Regions from separate parts of the Homo sapiens genome. Here all the other regions are linked to region 6. Evidence: promoter capture Hi-C in 16 types of primary human blood cells and fetal thymus (Javierre and others, 2016). All regions are on one chromosome and are shown on one strand. The core of a region is centred on a gene start or on the middle of the fragment in contact, and the rest is flanking DNA. Distances in the headings are between cores, read along the strand shown. Region 1 overlaps LOC124902497 (a long non-coding RNA gene). Region 2 holds the start of CFAP43 (cilia and flagella associated protein 43). Region 3 overlaps STN1 (STN1 subunit of CST complex). Region 4 has its middle 9.2 kb from the start of SH3PXD2A. Region 5 overlaps SH3PXD2A (SH3 and PX domains 2A). Region 6 holds the start of COL17A1 (collagen type XVII alpha 1 chain).

Evidence for each region. The method cuts DNA at HindIII sites, captures the fragments that hold promoters and counts their contacts. A CHiCAGO score of 5 or more calls a contact.
Region 1: a contact is called between a fragment that was not itself captured here and the fragment with the promoter of COL17A1 in region 6, in 1 of 17 cell types (endothelial precursors). The highest score is 5.6, in endothelial precursors.
Region 2: a contact is called between the fragment with the promoter of CFAP43 here and the fragment with the promoter of COL17A1 in region 6, in 10 of 17 cell types (endothelial precursors, activated CD4 T cells, M1 macrophages and 7 more). The highest score is 10.2, in endothelial precursors.
Region 3: a contact is called between a fragment that was not itself captured here and the fragment with the promoter of COL17A1 in region 6, in 6 of 17 cell types (naive CD4 T cells, activated CD4 T cells, naive B cells and 3 more). The highest score is 6.8, in naive CD4 T cells.
Region 4: a fragment that was not itself captured here is called in contact with the fragment with the promoter of COL17A1 in region 6 in 8 of 17 cell types (total CD8 T cells, total CD4 T cells, fetal thymus and 5 more); the score reaches 8.4 in total CD8 T cells.
Region 5: a contact is called between a fragment that was not itself captured here and the fragment with the promoter of COL17A1 in region 6, in 2 of 17 cell types (naive CD8 T cells and total CD8 T cells). The highest score is 5.3, in naive CD8 T cells.

What each region holds. Positions count from the first base shown.
Region 1 is chr10:104,247,762-104,250,461 of GRCh38, forward strand. LOC124902497 (a long non-coding RNA gene) reads right to left here. Exons shown (of 2, transcript XR_007062284.1): 2 at 572-831. Among named protein-coding and RNA genes, the nearest start is that of GSTO1, 5.8 kb to the right of the region's middle. The HindIII fragment of the contact is 1,590 bases long and covers 569-2,158 here.
Region 2 is chr10:104,230,999-104,233,698 of GRCh38, forward strand. CFAP43 (cilia and flagella associated protein 43) reads right to left here and starts at 1,366. Exons shown (of 38, transcript NM_025145.7): 1 at 1,184-1,366. The coding sequence starts at 1,248. RefSeq lists an enhancer at 1,193-1,487. The HindIII fragment of the contact is 2,497 bases long and covers 1-1,549 here.
Region 3 is chr10:103,902,229-103,904,928 of GRCh38, forward strand. All of the region lies in intron 4 of STN1 (STN1 subunit of CST complex), which reads right to left. Among named protein-coding and RNA genes, the nearest start is that of STN1, 15 kb to the right of the region's middle. The HindIII fragment of the contact is 1,484 bases long and covers 536-2,019 here.
Region 4 is chr10:103,863,469-103,866,168 of GRCh38, forward strand. No RefSeq gene overlaps it. Among named protein-coding and RNA genes, the nearest start is that of SH3PXD2A, 9.2 kb to the left of the region's middle. The HindIII fragment of the contact is 3,925 bases long and covers 1-2,700 here.
Region 5 is chr10:103,839,969-103,842,668 of GRCh38, forward strand. All of the region lies in intron 1 of SH3PXD2A (SH3 and PX domains 2A), which reads right to left. Among named protein-coding and RNA genes, the nearest start is that of SH3PXD2A, 14 kb to the right of the region's middle. The HindIII fragment of the contact is 269 bases long and covers 1,139-1,407 here.
Region 6 is chr10:104,084,618-104,087,317 of GRCh38, forward strand. COL17A1 (collagen type XVII alpha 1 chain) reads right to left here and starts at 1,263. Exons shown (of 56, transcript NM_000494.4): 1 at 1,106-1,263. The HindIII fragment of the contact is 1,426 bases long and covers 6-1,431 here.

The sequences.
Region 1 (2,700 bases), core at 114-2,613, 160 kb after region 6:
TTACAGGCACACTGAAACAATATGCCCTGTCTAGGCAGGATACATGGTAACAAGACTATGTTAGTTTTTTAAATTTTTTTTCTGAGTTCATAGAATACTATTGTGAGCTAATTCTCAGAAGGAAGGCTATAAATTTCCCTTAAATTGTTAATTAGCATTTATAACACACATTTGTGCTCTAGAGCAGTTCTGAGTTGGAACGTATTAGTGGTTGGTAAGATCTGCTTACTAAGTTGTAACCAACATGTCTTTAAAATGAACGGAACAAAAAAACTTCACAGTGCATCCCAATGGTAAGTGTAAATTCTGTTTTAGGGGTGTGTGTGTGTGTATGTATTTTTTATTGGACATTAAATAAAATACATTTTTTTCTTTAAAAATGTCAGTAAGTACTTTAGGGGGACTGTGAGGGAGACAAACTGTATTTAGTCAGCTCTAAGATCAACTGACAAGGAGGGAATAATTAAATAAATAACCAATTAAATTACAACAGAATCCTAAAATTTTTATTTAACGCTTATTGAAAGAGCTCTTTTAAGCCCAGATTTTTATGATAAAAGAACTCTTAAGCTTATTTAGAAATGATTTTTATTCTATTTTACTCTTGTGCAAGTATAAAAAGGAAAATATAAGTTATATAAAGTATTCATTCAACTTTTAGAATCCAGCTCTTTTGAATAATTTTTAAAATCAGCATCATAGGCATTCATTTCCCCAACTCATTCATCCCATAGCATTGTCCTCTGTGCCAAGAAGATCATTTAATTCCATAATGCAGCAAGAATGTTCTGTTATCTCTGGGATTTTCTTCCAAAGCCATTGACAGCTACCCTGCAAGTCCAAGCAAGAGCAATAACATCAGTGTCAAAACTGCTACACAGCCTGCTGTAATTTTAGATACACTTCCATTTTTAGAGGTATTTAAACATGAAGAAATGTGAATCTTAGAATCCATGAGATATGGTAGCAGTCTTAACTGCTACCTGATCTCTCGATCAGACTTAGGTGTCAGACTGATGGGTGAAGCCAGCTGGGCTTCTGGATCGGGTAGGGACTTGGAGTACTTTTCTGTCTAGCTAAATGGTTGTAAACACGCAAATCAGCACTCTGTGTCTAGCTAAAGGTTTGTAAACACACCAATGAGCACTCTGTAAAAATGCACCAATCAGCGCTCTGTGTCTAACTAAAGGTTTGTAAACGCACCAATCAGCACTCTGTTAAAAACGGACCAATCAGCACTCCGTAAAATGGACCAAACAGCACGACATGGGCGGGGCCAAATAAGGGAATAAAAGCTGGCCACCGGAGCCAGCAGGGGCAACAGGCTGGAGTCCCCTTCCGGGCTGTGGGAGCTTTGTTCTTTTGCTCTTCACAATAAATCTTACTGCTGCTCACTCTTTGGGTCTGCACTAGGTTTATGAGCTGTAACACTCACTGTGAGGGTCTGCAGCTTCATTCCTGAAGTCAGTGAGACCGTAAACCCCCGGGAGGAACAAACAACTCTGGACGCAGCACCTTTAAGAGCTATAAGACTCACTGCAAAGGTCTGCAGCTTCACTCCTGAAGTCAGCGAGACCATGAACCCACCAGAAGGAAGAAACTCCGGACACATCTGAACATCTGAAGGAACAAACTCTGGACACACGATCTTTAAGAACTGTAACACTCACTGCGAGGGTCCGCAGCTTCATTCTTGAAGTCAGCGAGACCAAGAACCCACCGGAAGGAATAAATTCCAGACACAAGACCAGAGTTGACAACCCATCTCCACCATAAAAAATATATTGATTTTGAGAAAATCACTTAACCTGTGCCCCCCAGTTTCCCTATCCCTGAGATGGTAATATTAACAGTATTTAAATCTTAGGATTGTTGTGAGGATTAAAGACTTTCCAGGTAGAACATTTAGGAGATAACTGGCAGGACATGTACATTCAACAGATGAGATTACCTCCTGCATGCTGTTTTACAACATTTTTATTTAACAGTGTATCTCTGGCATGTTTCTGCATCAGTATATATGAATCTACTTCATTACTTTTAACAGTTGTCTTTTAACAGTAGGTTTTTTTTTTCCTGTTCTTTAAAAAATGTTTCTTAAATCTTAATTTTTCCCAATATAGCGTATATTAAGAGTAAAAAATCAAAGTGAATAGAAAGCTTTTCAAATGACAGCAGTCGCCACCTCATTTCTCCCCACCTGATCCTTTCCCATCTCAATGCCATTCTCTAGAAGCCACCTTCCAACTGAAGAAACAGAAGGGAACCAATACCCTGGAAGCACCTCCCTACATCATGCACCCACCCTTTTCCATTCCCTTCCTTTCCCCTGGATGTAGCTACCATCCTGAATTCTGTGATTATTGTTCCCTGCTTTTCAATTCTACCATGTATGCATGAGCCATAACTAATGTGCTGTTTCACTTTGCCTGTTTTTAAAGTTAACACATGTAGAATCATACCATATATATTATTGTGACTTGCTATTCTGGCTCAATATCATGTTTTTGAGAGGGATTTAAGTTGATAACTATAGCTGTAGACTATTTGTTTTCATTGTTGGGTAGATGTCCATTATATGAATACAACACAATTTATCCATTCTTCTTTCAATGGACTTTTAATATCCCCTCAATTTTTTTTCTATTCAAGCTTCTTCTTTTTTTTTTTTTTTTTTGAGACAAAGTCTCACTCACTCTG
Region 2 (2,700 bases), core at 116-2,615, 150 kb after region 6:
GAGATCCATTTGAGTCAATGAATTATAGAAATTTAAATGTAGACCTAAAGTTCCGTAGGTCTCCCAGGCCTTCTTCAGATAACTTTTTCAGCAAAGGAAACTCTCTGACCAAACCTGAGAAAGTCTCAGAAGGACTTCTGGGGTCTTCTATACTTGGAAGACAAAAAGTGAAAATAACAGAGAAAAGAGCTTGATCTCAACACAGTGGCATCCTGGGCCATTCTTTTATAATTAGTTTGATTTTTTTAAATAAACTTTAAAAAACAACTTTGCATAGGACAGCCTGCTTTGTGGTTGTTAGCAGAGTAGGAAAATTGCTTATTTACACAGATGAAGAGTATGTGGCCATATTTTAGATTTAAAAATACAGATAAACGTAGAAAATAAAAGGAATGAAGTCGACGTGAATGAAAGGCTAGCACACAAAAAGAACATACTCTCAAGTAAGGAGTGCGTGCTAGGTGTATGCTAGAAAGGAGAGGAGATGAAGGAGATTCTATTTTTATTTAAATATTAAAGGTATGCTTGAAGATGGTGGAAAAGGCAAGTGAAGGACACTGGTTTGGTGAGAAACCTCGAGACATTAGAGTGTCCAGGACTAGCAGGGGATGCTGTATAGAGTGGAGGTGGGGGCTGGGAGGAACACTCTAGAATGTAGGGGAAAAAATGCCACCTATATCTGCGCAGTGCTTGATGCTTTTCAAAGGCTACTATAAATGCAAATAAATCCAAAGCTAGTGGATAGGAGTTAGAAGGAAAGGATTCAGGGACCTAACTTTGGGGAAAATCACCAAAGGTAGCAAGGACGGGATCCGGGCTGTCGCCAGGTGGAGGGGGAGGGGGATGTGATCAGAAGACCCGGATCACTAGCGGGAATCCTGAGCTAGAAGGAAGAGATGAAGGGTGCAGGGGACGTTGCTGGGTAAGAGACGGAGGGTCAGGGTCGCAGAATAAGGAGTGGGAAAGACAACTGGGGACGGGGTCAAGGAACAAGGGGATGGGGAGCGGACAGGGGAGGTCACACGGGGAGGGAGGCTGAGGGAAGGCACTGGGGGCAGAGGGGAAGAGGTCGAAGCTGCGGGGAAAGCCGCCCTAAGGAACCGGAGGGAGAGGAGGGAGGAGGGGACTTGGGGCAGGAGGTTCCGCGAGACCCAGATCGGTCGCGGGGCCGTGAACACCGCACCTCACGGACAAGGACGCGCCGCCGGCGGAGTGGGGGCCTTCGTCGCGCTCCCGGCCTTGCGCCATGGGCAGTGTTTTCCTCAGGCGGGAGCAGGCAGCGCACGCAGCACCCCAGGGCGGGTCGGTTACCTTTCCGCCGCCGCGGGGCTGCGGGCCGCGACGCCGCTGCTGTGTACACCCGTATCCCGGAGACCGTAAGCCCCGCGCCCATTGGCTCTGCGCTTTGGCCCGCTCCCTTCTGAGCCGAGCAGATTGGTGGAAGGTCTGCCGCTCTCGGCCAATGGGTGAGCGGCAAGCCAAGCGAGGGGCGGGCCCCTTGCTGTTCAAAGTGTGGTCTGTTTACCAGCAACATTGGTGCTACCTGGGAAGCTTGTTATAAATGCAGAAACTTGGCTCCCACACCAGATCTACTCAATCAGAATCTGCATTTTAACAAATTTCCCCAGGTCCGGGCCAATAATTGCAAGTAAGACTCATGCCTACAATCTCCGCGCTTTCGAAGGTCAGAGCGGGAGGATCGCTTGAGGCTAGGAGTTGAAGACCAGCCTGGAAGACATAGCGAAACCTGCCGCGCCCGTGCCGCATCTCTACAAAAAAATTTAAAAAGCAGCCGGGCATGGTGGTGCACGCCTGTAGTCCCAGCTACTTGGGAGACTGAAGTGGGAGGATCGCTTGAGCCCAGGAGTTCAAGGCTGCGGTGAGCTGGGATGACGCCACAGCACTCCAGCCTGGGCGACAGAGCGAGACCTGTCTCTAAATAAATAATTATTTTTAAAAATCAATAAATTTCTAAACAGACTTTCATTTAGAGTGCTGACTGTGCCAAACATTGTTGCAACGTCTTCACATCTCCCATCAGCCCCATTTTACAGATAAGTAACGTGAGGAAAAGAGAAGCACATAATTTGTCCATGGCTACAAAGTTGAGTGGGACTTTATTTATTTATATTATTTATTTATTTATTTTTGAGATAGGGTCTCACTCCGTTGCCCAGGCTGGAGGGCAGTGGCTTGATCTTGGCTCACTGCAACCTCCATCTCCTGGGTTCAAGCGATTCTCCTGCCTCAGCCTCCCAAGTAGCTGAGATTACAGGCACGTGCTACCATGCCCAGCTAATTTTTTGTATTTTTAGTAGAGACGGGTTTTCACCATGATGACCAGGCTGGTTTCAAATTCTTGACCTCAAGTGATTCGCCCGCCTTGGCCTCCCAGAGTGCTGCGATTACAGGCGTGAGCCACCTTGCCCAGCCCTGAGTGGGACTTAAACGCAGGTCTAGCTAATTTAGAGCTCCAAGCCCTTAAGTACCATATAACACTTTGAAATGTACCCTCTTGCTTCCTCAGGGAAGCAGACAGCTCTGGAAGTAACCTGATTGAATGGTCGGCAGCTTGTCATTCCTTCTTCTCTCCCATACCTTCCCTTAGACTCCCTCCCTTACCCTTCTTCCTTTCCCTTCAGTCGTCTTCCCTTCTCTACCCTTCCCTTCCTTTCTTTAGGTCTTTCCTTCCTGTCTTGC
Region 3 (2,700 bases), core at 28-2,527, 180 kb before region 6:
CAGAGCTTACTGGGTTTCTTCAAAAAATCCCCAACTGCTACTTTTTCAAAAGTAGCAGTTCCTATCCCCAGGCCCTCTTCTACTTAGGCTGAATTTTAAAGGTATTTATAAATCTCATTGTCATTATGCAGACATTATAGGTGATAATAAATGCTTCACATAGCACCACTGAAATGATCAGACTGATGGTTGGTCTGAGAAAAAGAGGCCCACCTTTCACTTAAAGGGTGAGCCAAGTTGCCAAAAGGAGGCTCAAGCTGTGTAATTAAATGAATATAATGAGAAGACTGGAGCCTGACAGAACTTCACTTTCAGTGTCTATTCCATCATGAAAGATAAATCCCCTTTAACATTCGAATACTCAGGGCCAGGAAATCTTAACTTTGCTCATAAGCTAAGTCCAAATGGTACATTCAATGTGACATTTATGAAAGCTAATATTATATTCTTTTACTTTAACTGAGTGGAACATGATTTTGACTCAGACTAAATTTTGTTTAAAAAATTAGTCTTTGCTGGCCACCTTCCAATGGAAAGCTTTTAAACTAAGGGCAATTAAATTAAAAGGAGAGAATGGGCTAGTTGGGAACAATTTAAAGACGATGAGAATCATTTTTAGGTTTTCTCCTTCTACTCTTACCTTCTCGTTATATTTGCAAAGCAATCTTAAGGCTACCTACTGTGATTGTTCATCCATTCATCTACTTATTGATATTTTAAAAATCTGACTCTCAGTATTAATACCCATTTTGTTGATCTAAAAAATTACGAAGTATAAGAATTATATATTCCTGATGATGCTATTTCTTTAAAAAGAGTTAATTTTGAAAACTGAAACAATGACTAAAACAGGGGTCTGCAAACTATAGCCCATGGACCAAATCCATCCACAGCCTGTTTTTTAAAATAAAGTTTTATTGGAACACAGCCATGCCCATTTGCTTATGTACTACCTATGGTTACTTTCTGTTATAATGGCAGCGTTGAATAGTTGAGACACACAGACCATAGGGTGCACAAACAGAAAATATGGCCCTTTACAGAAAAACTTTGCTGACTCCCCATCTAGAACAAGTACGCATATTCAAACTACACCTTCTGACTGAAGATTGTGACAACAACCAAAAATCTGCAAATGATTTTAATACTGCTACAGTTTGACAAAAACAAGTTTCAATGTTTTTGTCCCCTCAAAATCTCATGTGTTAGAAATTTAACCCCCAATGCAACAGTGTTAGAAGATGGGGTCTAATGGGAGGTGTTTAGGTTATGAGAGCTCCACTCTCATGAATGAATTAAGGCCACTATAAAATGGGTTTGCAGAAGTGGTTCTCATTCTCACGCTCTTCTGCCATGTGAGGAACAGTTCTCCTCCCCTCTGGAGGATGAAGCATTCAAGGTGCCATCTTGGAGGGGAAACCCGGACCTCACCAGACACCAAAACTTTGATCTTGGAATTTCTGGCCTCCAGAACTATGAGAAATAAATTTCTTTCTTTATAAAATTACCCAGTCTTAGGTATTCTGTAACAGCAGCACAAAACAGATTAAGAAAAACACCTCAGACATACATAAAAATCCAGATACCTGATTGTCTCATAGGTTTATTTCTTGCCTATGAGGTATCTGCCTAAAAACACGTTGTCTCCCTTAAATCTATCTACAAACCTTCCTCACCAAAGCAATGCCATTGATTTAGATGTTCCCAAATTAGGAATTAGAATTCCAAAGTTACATGAAACTGATGGCCAAATTCTAAATGTAAATACATCAGAAAATTAAGCAAATGAGCATTCCATTGATCGGTATAGTCAAAGTACAAAGTTGAGATTCTGACACGTAATGGCAAAAAAGAAGAAACGACTCTAAGCACTAGATATTCTTACCATACATAATGCAAGTAGATAGATACTAGATGTTAGATATTAGAGCAGGCAGTGTTTACTGAATAACCCCACTGTGTATGGCACTATACTGTATATGTTGTAAAACACAGGAAAAACAAGGTTCCAGTTTTCAAAGCTTCTCTAGAACCAAAAACCATCACCAATATTGCACGATATTCTTTCATATTATGAACTTAAATTAAAAAATATCTAAAAATTAGGCCGGGTGTGGTGGCTCAAGCCTGTAATCCTAACACTTTGGGAGGCTGAGGCAGGAGGATCACTTGTGTCCAGGAGTTTGAGACCAGCCCTGGAAACATAGTGAGAACCTAACTTTAAAAAAAAAAAAAAGTATCTAAAAATTATTAAAATATATTCAAGCAACTCCAAATGTTGTTTCAGTTATAGTCAATGTATTCACTATACAATTTTAAAGTTCTTTTAATTTATATTACTTAATGGATAATTTCCAAAGGAATCCTATCTTACCTTCTCAGTCTTAGAATTCCTGGTATTATTTGTTTGAACACAGAGATTTTAGAAAATCTGGACCATGGCAGCACAGAAGTTAGTGGCAACCATGTGAGAGAAACAGTCTTCAAAATGTTCTTTGGTCAAGTGATATGGCTGGGACAAGGGGATTCAGACCTGACTTGCAATTAGGCTAAGACACCTTGACTTATGTAATAATGGGCATGGTAAAAATGAATTGCTGAAACTCCCTGTAACCTATTCACATTCTTGTAGGCTTAGGAAGCAGTGAGCACCAAAGAGATGGGAGAAAGAAAAGCAACTGGCTCTCCTATGGCATCAGT
Region 4 (2,700 bases), core at 18-2,517, 220 kb before region 6:
CTGATCTCCTCCCAAATTTCTGCAGCACTGATGTATATTTCACCAGTTACACAGATAGAGGTACATGTGTGGAAACTCGAGCCACCTGCTATCATACTTCCAGTTTATTTATCACAGTGATGTTTTTGCAGGCCTTGTGGATTGATACCACAGGGAACTGACCTGGCTTTGTCCAGTTCTGATGAGTAGTGCTCCAGAAGAAATACAGGGAGCCTCAGGAACACAGAGCAGAGGCCCATCCTAGGCCGAGGGCAGGAAAGACTCCCAGTAGACACTGACCAGCAGCATGGAGGACCCTCTCCTCTTGTTGGATGTTAAGGGTGGGATGAAAGTCCCAACCCTCTAATCCTGCCTTGGTCTTTCCAGTGACCAGCCCCCATCCTGAAGCTACCCAGAGTTACTAGCCACCAGTCAACTCATTTGCATACAAAAGGACACATCACTTTGAAGATACCAAATATTTTAGGAGTTTTATGTCAAGAACAGAGGACTAAGGCCAAATATATTTCACAATATCACAAATGTTATATTCACACAACAGAACACTATATACCCATGACAAAGACAAAACTACTGCTTCATGCAACACACTGGATGAGGCTCACAGACACAATATTGTACCAAAAATAAAAGACACACTCAAAGGGTACATATGTGTGATTCCACTTATATAAAGTTCAAGACAGACAAAATTAATTGATGGTGCTGGAGGTCAGGACAGTGGTTGCCTCTGAGAGGTATGAGCTAGGAGGGGCACAGAGACTACGGGGTGCTGGAAATGGTCTCCACCTTGATCTGGGTGGAGGTTTTGAGTCGGGCACTGGAGTTGTGTATTCAATGTACAGATGTGATACCTCAATAAAAAAGAAAAGAATGAATGAAATAAAACTAAACAAATCAGCAATCACCTCTTAGATTCTGGTGAGTAAAAACAATGCAAGTTGCAGAAAGACATGGACAGTATACCATTTATGTAAATGTTAAACATAAAGAACAATACTATACATAATATACATATTTTAGGGATACATACATCTGTGGTAAAAGTATTAAGATGAACACGAAAAGCTGGCATGGTGGTGAGCACCTGTAATTCCAGCTACTCAGCATTGCTTGAGTTCTGGAATTCGAGACCAGCCTGGGCAATATAGTGAGATCCTGTTTCAAAAAATGAAATAAAATAGGCCAGGCACGGTGGCTCATGCCTGTAATCCTAGCACTTTGGGAGGCCAAGGCGGGTAGATTATGAGGTCAGGAGTTCGAGACCATCCTGGCCAACATGGTGAAATCCCGTCTCTACGAAAAATACAAAAATTAGCTGGGCATGGTGGCACGCACCTGTAACACATACTGGACTAATCAGACACCCTCCTTGGGACTTTTCTAACCGGTGCTGTGGGAAGAGAACCTCTTTCCTCTCAGAGCTGTGAAGCTATCAGCCCAGAGCTGACCCCAGCCATCTCTCTGACAACACAGAGGATAATGTTCACAGTGAGAGAGGATACAGCCAAATCTCAGAGGCAGGAAGAGAGAGAAACAAGAGCATCTTCCCAGCATTTGGATTCCTAGGGCCAATTGACCCTAAACCAGTGCCACTCTGTCCCTCCCCACTGTTTCATTAGGTATTCTCTCTTATACCTTACCACCTTGGCATAAGCTGGAGTAAGATCTTTATCATTTATAACCAAAGACTACTACAGGTGTTTAACTCCAGGGCAGAAGGTTGGAATGGGAGTGAGGATGTGAAGCAGGAGATTCACTTTTCAGATAGTATGTTTTTCAGTTCTAGGATTTCCATATAGTTTTTTACAGTTTCCTGATCTCTTCTAAATTTCCCATCTCTTTACCCAGTATATGCATCTTTTCCAAAGACTCTTTAACACATTTATCAAAGGTATTTTAAAGCCCTTCTCTGCCAGTCTGACATCAGAGTTGTCTGTGAGTCTGTTTCTATTGACTAGTATATCTCTTGATTATGGGTCACATTTCTCTCTTTCTTCACATATCTAATAATTTTTATATAGTGAACATTGTAAATGGTATATTGTAGAGACTGGATTCTGTTATCTTCCTCTGGGATTCTAATATACACTAAAGTTCAAGAATGGCTGCCCTTAGGGGAAAGTCATACAAGTGTGGACCTCACCCGGAGTGTCTTCCTTCTTTCAAGGAACAAGTCCCCTTCCTTTAGTCTGGTCGTCATCCAGTGGCATCAAACAGGTTTTTATTTTCACCTTGTCCAGAGTTTGTAATTATGATCTGTAGGAGGGGTTAGCCTTCTACAAATCACTCTACTCTGTTAGACCAAAATTTGGATATTCACATTTTAGTTCAAATACTATATTAAATATGGTTTGATGTTGTTTGCATTCTTTGTCATTTAAAAATAAATTTAAAATGTTTTTAGTTGTACTGGGCATGGTGGCACACATCTGTAGTCCCTGGCTACTTGGGAGGTTGGGGTAGGAGGATTGCTTGAGCCCCAGAGTTCAAGGCTATAGTGTGCTATGTTAGTGCTTGTGAATAGCCGCTGCATTCCAGCCTGGGCAACACAGCAAGACACATATATTTAATTGCTATTTGAATAAAATGTTTGTGAAATCCTGGAAGCACCTTACAGGTTTATGAGACACAGCTTGAAAATCTCTAGTATAAACCATATGATTGACCATTATGGGTATGGATTAGGTTCAACCAGGC
Region 5 (2,700 bases), core at 23-2,522, 240 kb before region 6:
GGCAGGCTCCGTAGGGCAAAGGTAAAGGGCTCCCAACGCCCAGTGCCATCAAATCAAAAAGGGCAAGGCCAGGCAAGAGCCCAGCGCTGCTGACAGACTGGCAGAGGCAGAAATGATGGCGCCAACAACAGCTGCTGTTTATTTTGGGGCCAGGGAAGAGAGGAAGGACTGGTTAGGACCCATCTCATTCCAACAATAAACTGAACAGGGCAGGGCGGGGAGGTTGCCCCGCTTCCAGCTAAAGCAACAGCCTGGCCACCTGTTGGGTTTCACTGAGTGGAATGGTCTAGGTGTCAAAAACATCTTGCCAGACACCCTAATCTAGCTTCCACCAATAAACACATCGCCACCCCGGCCCAGCCCCCTCCCCAGACCCATGTGCTGCACTTGTAAATGGCCCAGGAAGGCGGCCACATACACCAAGCCCACCCCCTGCAGTGTCAGGTTCCAGAAACAAATGGTTTTTCCTGTCTGGGAGAAGAAAGAGAAACTGCTCATACTGGCCACCCGTGGCTTTTGTTCCCTCACCCTGACACTTGTTAACACCTAATGACAAGTGTCCTGAACGTAAGGTCTACAGACAGCCACCCTGGGCTGCAGCAAGGCTGGCTGGCGGGATTCCCGGAAGGCCAGGAAACAAGAGGTTTCGCGAAGGACTCTGGAGTCCCGCTGCCTGGCTCTGAACCCGGCTCTGCCCCTTCCTAGCTTGTGACCATTGGTAAATGCATCTCATGCATCTCTCTCTGCCTCTGTTCTCTCTGAGTAATGGAAGGACCATAATAGTGCTTTTCTCATAGTCTGTTGCAAGGATTAAATGAGTGATGTGCTTAGTGGCGGGCACATCGTTCATGCTGCTGTTGTTACGGTTGTTATTGTTATGTAGCCTTAGGGTTTCCTTCTCACTGTGAACAATGGAAGACAGTTTCCCTGGATGTTACACACAGCATTTAGGCTCCCAGGTTAGCCTATGCTGTAGGTGAACTAGAGATATCTGGTTGTCAGGGATACAAATCTACTCTGAGGATGAGAAAAGTTTTGGTGGGCTGACTTGAGAATCTTAACACCATTTACGATACAATACTGATAGGAACATGTGTTTTGAGTTTCTAACAACTAACTTCAGCAACTGTAAGTTAGAAGCTTCAGTAAAAATAGGAGTATGAGGTCGGAGGGGAAGGGGCTTTAGTAGAATGAAGCCTTTGTCCAGGGATTTATCACACTGATCCAGGACGCACCATGATCCAGACCCTCTGCTAGCATGAGGAGGGGGCGTTAAAGATGAAAGGATGTGGTCGCTGCTTTTGCAGGAATTCACGCCCCTACCTGCCTCCTGGCTCCCAGCTGGAGCACTGCTTTCAACACAGCACCTTGCACACAGTAGGCACAAAAATAATGTTCAGCCAGTGAAGCTTCCTGGTGTGTACCCTGCCTTTGGGGCCCTGGAGTTCCTACCCATGACGCTGCTGATGGAGACTGTGTTTCCCCAGGAGGTCTCTTTTAAAGGGGGTCAGGGTCAAACCCCAAGCAGTCCTTGAAGCCACCTCTCTGGCAGTGTTTTGGCCAGTTTCAGTCTCCATTAGGTCATCATGAGGCCTCACTGCTGAGCAGAGCATGCTGTGCAGGGTGGGGAGGGATACAAGGCTCAACGTGACCCTTTTCCCTATCTGACCCCATGACCTGCTGCTCTCCCCTCTCTCACTCCACTCAGGCCACACCAGCCACCTCGGGGCCTTGGCACCTGTTGTTCCCTCTCCCTCAACCACTTTCCCCCAGATAGCCACAGGGCTCACTTCCTCACCTCCCTCAAGTCTTACTCAAAAGCCACCTCTACAGTGGGGCTGTCCTTGGCCACCCTCTATAAAATAGCACAGCAAGGCCGGGTGCAGTGGCTCACGCCTGTAATCCCAGCACTCTGGGAGGCCGAGACGGGTGGATCACGAGGTCAGGAGATCAAGACCATCCTGGCCAACATGGTGAAATCCTGTCTCCACTAAAAATACAAAAAAATTAGCTGGGTGTGGTGGCGGGTGCCTGTAGTCCCAGCTACTCGGGAGGCTGAGGCAGGAGAATGGCGTGAACCCGGGAGGTGGAGCTTGCAGTGAGCCGAGATCGCACCACTACACTGCAGCCTGGGCGACAGAGCGAGACTCCGTCTCAAAAAAAAAAAAAAAAAAAGCACAGCAACTCCCACCATCACCAACATGCCTGTCTCCCTCACCTGGCTTTAGTTTTCCCTACGCCATTCAACCCCCATCTCATACACTATGTTTTTGACCTATTTTGTTATTGTATTCTTATTTTTAAATGATATATAATAGTTATACAAATTTTGGGGGTACCTGTGATAATTTGATACCTGTATACAATGTGTAATAATCAAATCGGGGTCATGGGGATATCCATCACCTCAAACACTTATCTTTTATTTGTACTGGGAACATTCCAGTTCTTCTAGTTACTGTAAAATATGCAATAGATTATTGTTAACTACAATTTCCTTACTGTACTATCAAATACTAAAACGTATTATTTCTACCCAACTGTATTTTTGTATTCATTAATCAACCTCTCTTTATTCCTCCCACCTGGCCTCTGGTAGCCGCCATTCTACTCTTCACTACCTCTGTGAGATCTACTCTTTTTAGCTCTCACCTATGAGTGAGGACAGCAATATTCGTCTTTCCGTCTTTCCGCACCTGG
Region 6 (2,700 bases), core at 13-2,512:
ATGCAAGCTTGAAGCAGAGCTGTTCACTTTAATTGTTCCTGTGTAAACTCTGATCAGACTCATGTGGGTGTTTTGCAGGGCCTAAGAGTAAAGCAGGACACCTCTGAATCTCTGGAGTGAGTCTGTGTGGGGATAGACATCTGTCTTAGGTTAGTTCTGACAGATCTGTGCCTTAGCTCTAAGAGAGAACATATGGAGGTAAGAAGAAACTATTCTGCTTTTCAAATAAATACCTTTTAAAAATCTTGCTACGTTTTACAAGTCCACTATTAGACTACTGATTAACTACTTCTCAAAAGAAGGAATGTGCCAGAGGTTTTGCCTCCACTTCAAAAAGTAAAGTGATAATTTGTCAGTTACCAGTTAACGTCATCCACTTAGGTATCTAAACTGGTAATTCTCATCTCAAAGTGAATTTTTTTGGCAGGAGGAAACCCAAGTTGACTCGTAAGAGTATATATACGGGAAACAATTTTCTTCCTTTTTTTATTCCTCTAAGTTTGATCCTGCAAAATTTCTGAATTAATCAGATCATTTCAAAGATCCTACTTTTCTTTAGATTAGAGGTAATTTTACAGCATGGTAAACAGCAATGTTTACCATGTATGGCTTAATCAGAGAGGCCCAGTCAGCACAGGGACTGTTTCTAGAAGGCCCCCTTACCTATACTTTAACTTCACCCCTGAGTTGTTCTCTTCGTCCAGTGGAGAGAGAGACAGAGGGAAGAGGAGAGCAAGATAGCGAGAGAGGAAACTGAGATTGGGAGAGAAGGAATTATAAGCCCGTATCATATTCTAAATAAAACAACACAAGTCATTTTACAATGCTGAAAACAATGCAGAAAGGTCTTGCCTCTAAAGCCCGCTATATTTTAACCAGCCTTCAGCCTTCTCCTTTTCCCCACTTATTTCCTTTGAAAGACCTACCCTAAGCAGAATGCATACACCAAAGTCATCTTTTATAACCAATTGATCACTTTAACCAGAATGCTAGAAACTACAGAACTTCATCTTCTTTTCTCCAATAAACATTTAATTTCTAAATGGCAAACCTTAAATCAAAGTCTCAGAGAAAAGGAGAAAGGTCAGTCTTCCTGTTTACTTACCTGGTTTGAGGTTTTGAAGGAATTGGAAACAACTTTGAATAAATCCCCCTCTCTCTTTCTTCTCCTGATGTTTTCTTCTAGAAATTTGCAGTGCTCACTTTTTTTTTATCCAGACCCAGCCAAGGTGTGTTAAAGCTGAGTGATCTTTCAAAAATGTTCACTTTTCTTTCTCTCCACCTTGTTTCTTTCAACTCTTTGCTTCCAAACATGTCCTGACAAAGGTGTGTCATGGTTTACAGCGTTACTCCACCCTTCCAATTATCTGACACTTGCTGGATTTAAAAAAAAAATCTGCCTCCAGGAATCAAACTTTACTGGAGGCAGAAAGCTTCTCCTTCCAGCTTAGGTAGATTAACTATTTATAAGGCCCATGGGGAAAAGGAAACAAAGGACCAGCATAAAGGAAATGCTTTTTTATTGCCTACCTTCTACAGCTGGAGAACTGCCACAACTTTGTGGCAGTACCCTTCCTCAGTGCCATGGGTACTGGAATCCCACTGCATGATTCATGAGTCTAGGCACGTGGATGGGCTCATGGATGAGCATGGTCTAGGCACATGGATGGCCTGTGGTCATACTGCCTGAGCCCTAGAAAAACTGAAGTTGGCAGGATTTATATTCAAGATCTGTTTCCCCTATAGATGTCTTCGTCCTCTGTTCCTGTGTCCTGTGTCCTTTGTCTTGTTTCCCCTATAGATGTCTTTGTCCTCTTTCCCCTCTTGTGACTCAAGCCAGGTCAAGCCCATCTGGAGAAAATAGTTGGTGAACTAATTCATAATATGCTAATGACTGAATGTACTGAGCAATTGGTGGGGTAGGGGTTCGTTTTACAAAAGAGGCAACCAGATATAGTGATGCTGACCTAAAAGAGTGACATGTTAGTGATGGAATTTTAGGCATTTAGCCACCTAATAATGGAGAGAGGTGCTGTTGGGAAGGGATAAGGACCTTCTTGTCCTTCAAATCAGGTGACCGCATAGTCTCCATACACCTAAAGACATGTGTGGGCTCCCAGATGTCCTGCAACTCCAAGTACATCCTGGGGACCTTTAGATTTCCCTAGAGGGTCAACTTGCATCAATCAGGATAATTCTTATGAATACCTGGATAGCATCTGGCTTCCCAGGGGGCCTAAAGACTAGCTTGAGACACTTGGTGTTGGTAAAATGGGAAGTCTGAACCTGGAACTCACTCAGGCAGTCCTTTGAGGCCATAGCACATTCCTGGGACCCAGCATCACACTGGGATTCCCAGTTCTGAGGCATTATCCTAAGATACTGGAGGGGAGCAGTGGGGCCCTTACAGCATAGCACCGATGTGCAACTGCACCTTGCTATTGTGGGCACTGCATCCCATGGAAGGGTAGCAGACCACAACAACAGCTGTGGGGCTCTTGCTCCTAAGCTGCCCATATTCCACACTGGAGTCGTGCATTTCAGAACCCTTTCAATTATGCAGAATTTGACACTTGCTTTGTAGGATGTTCTTGCCTTCCCCAAATAAATACTCAATATGTCTTCCGTCAGTTTCATAGTAGAAGAACACTGAAGAACCCAGAACACACAGAGCTTTCAGCATAAAATAGACATGCCCCT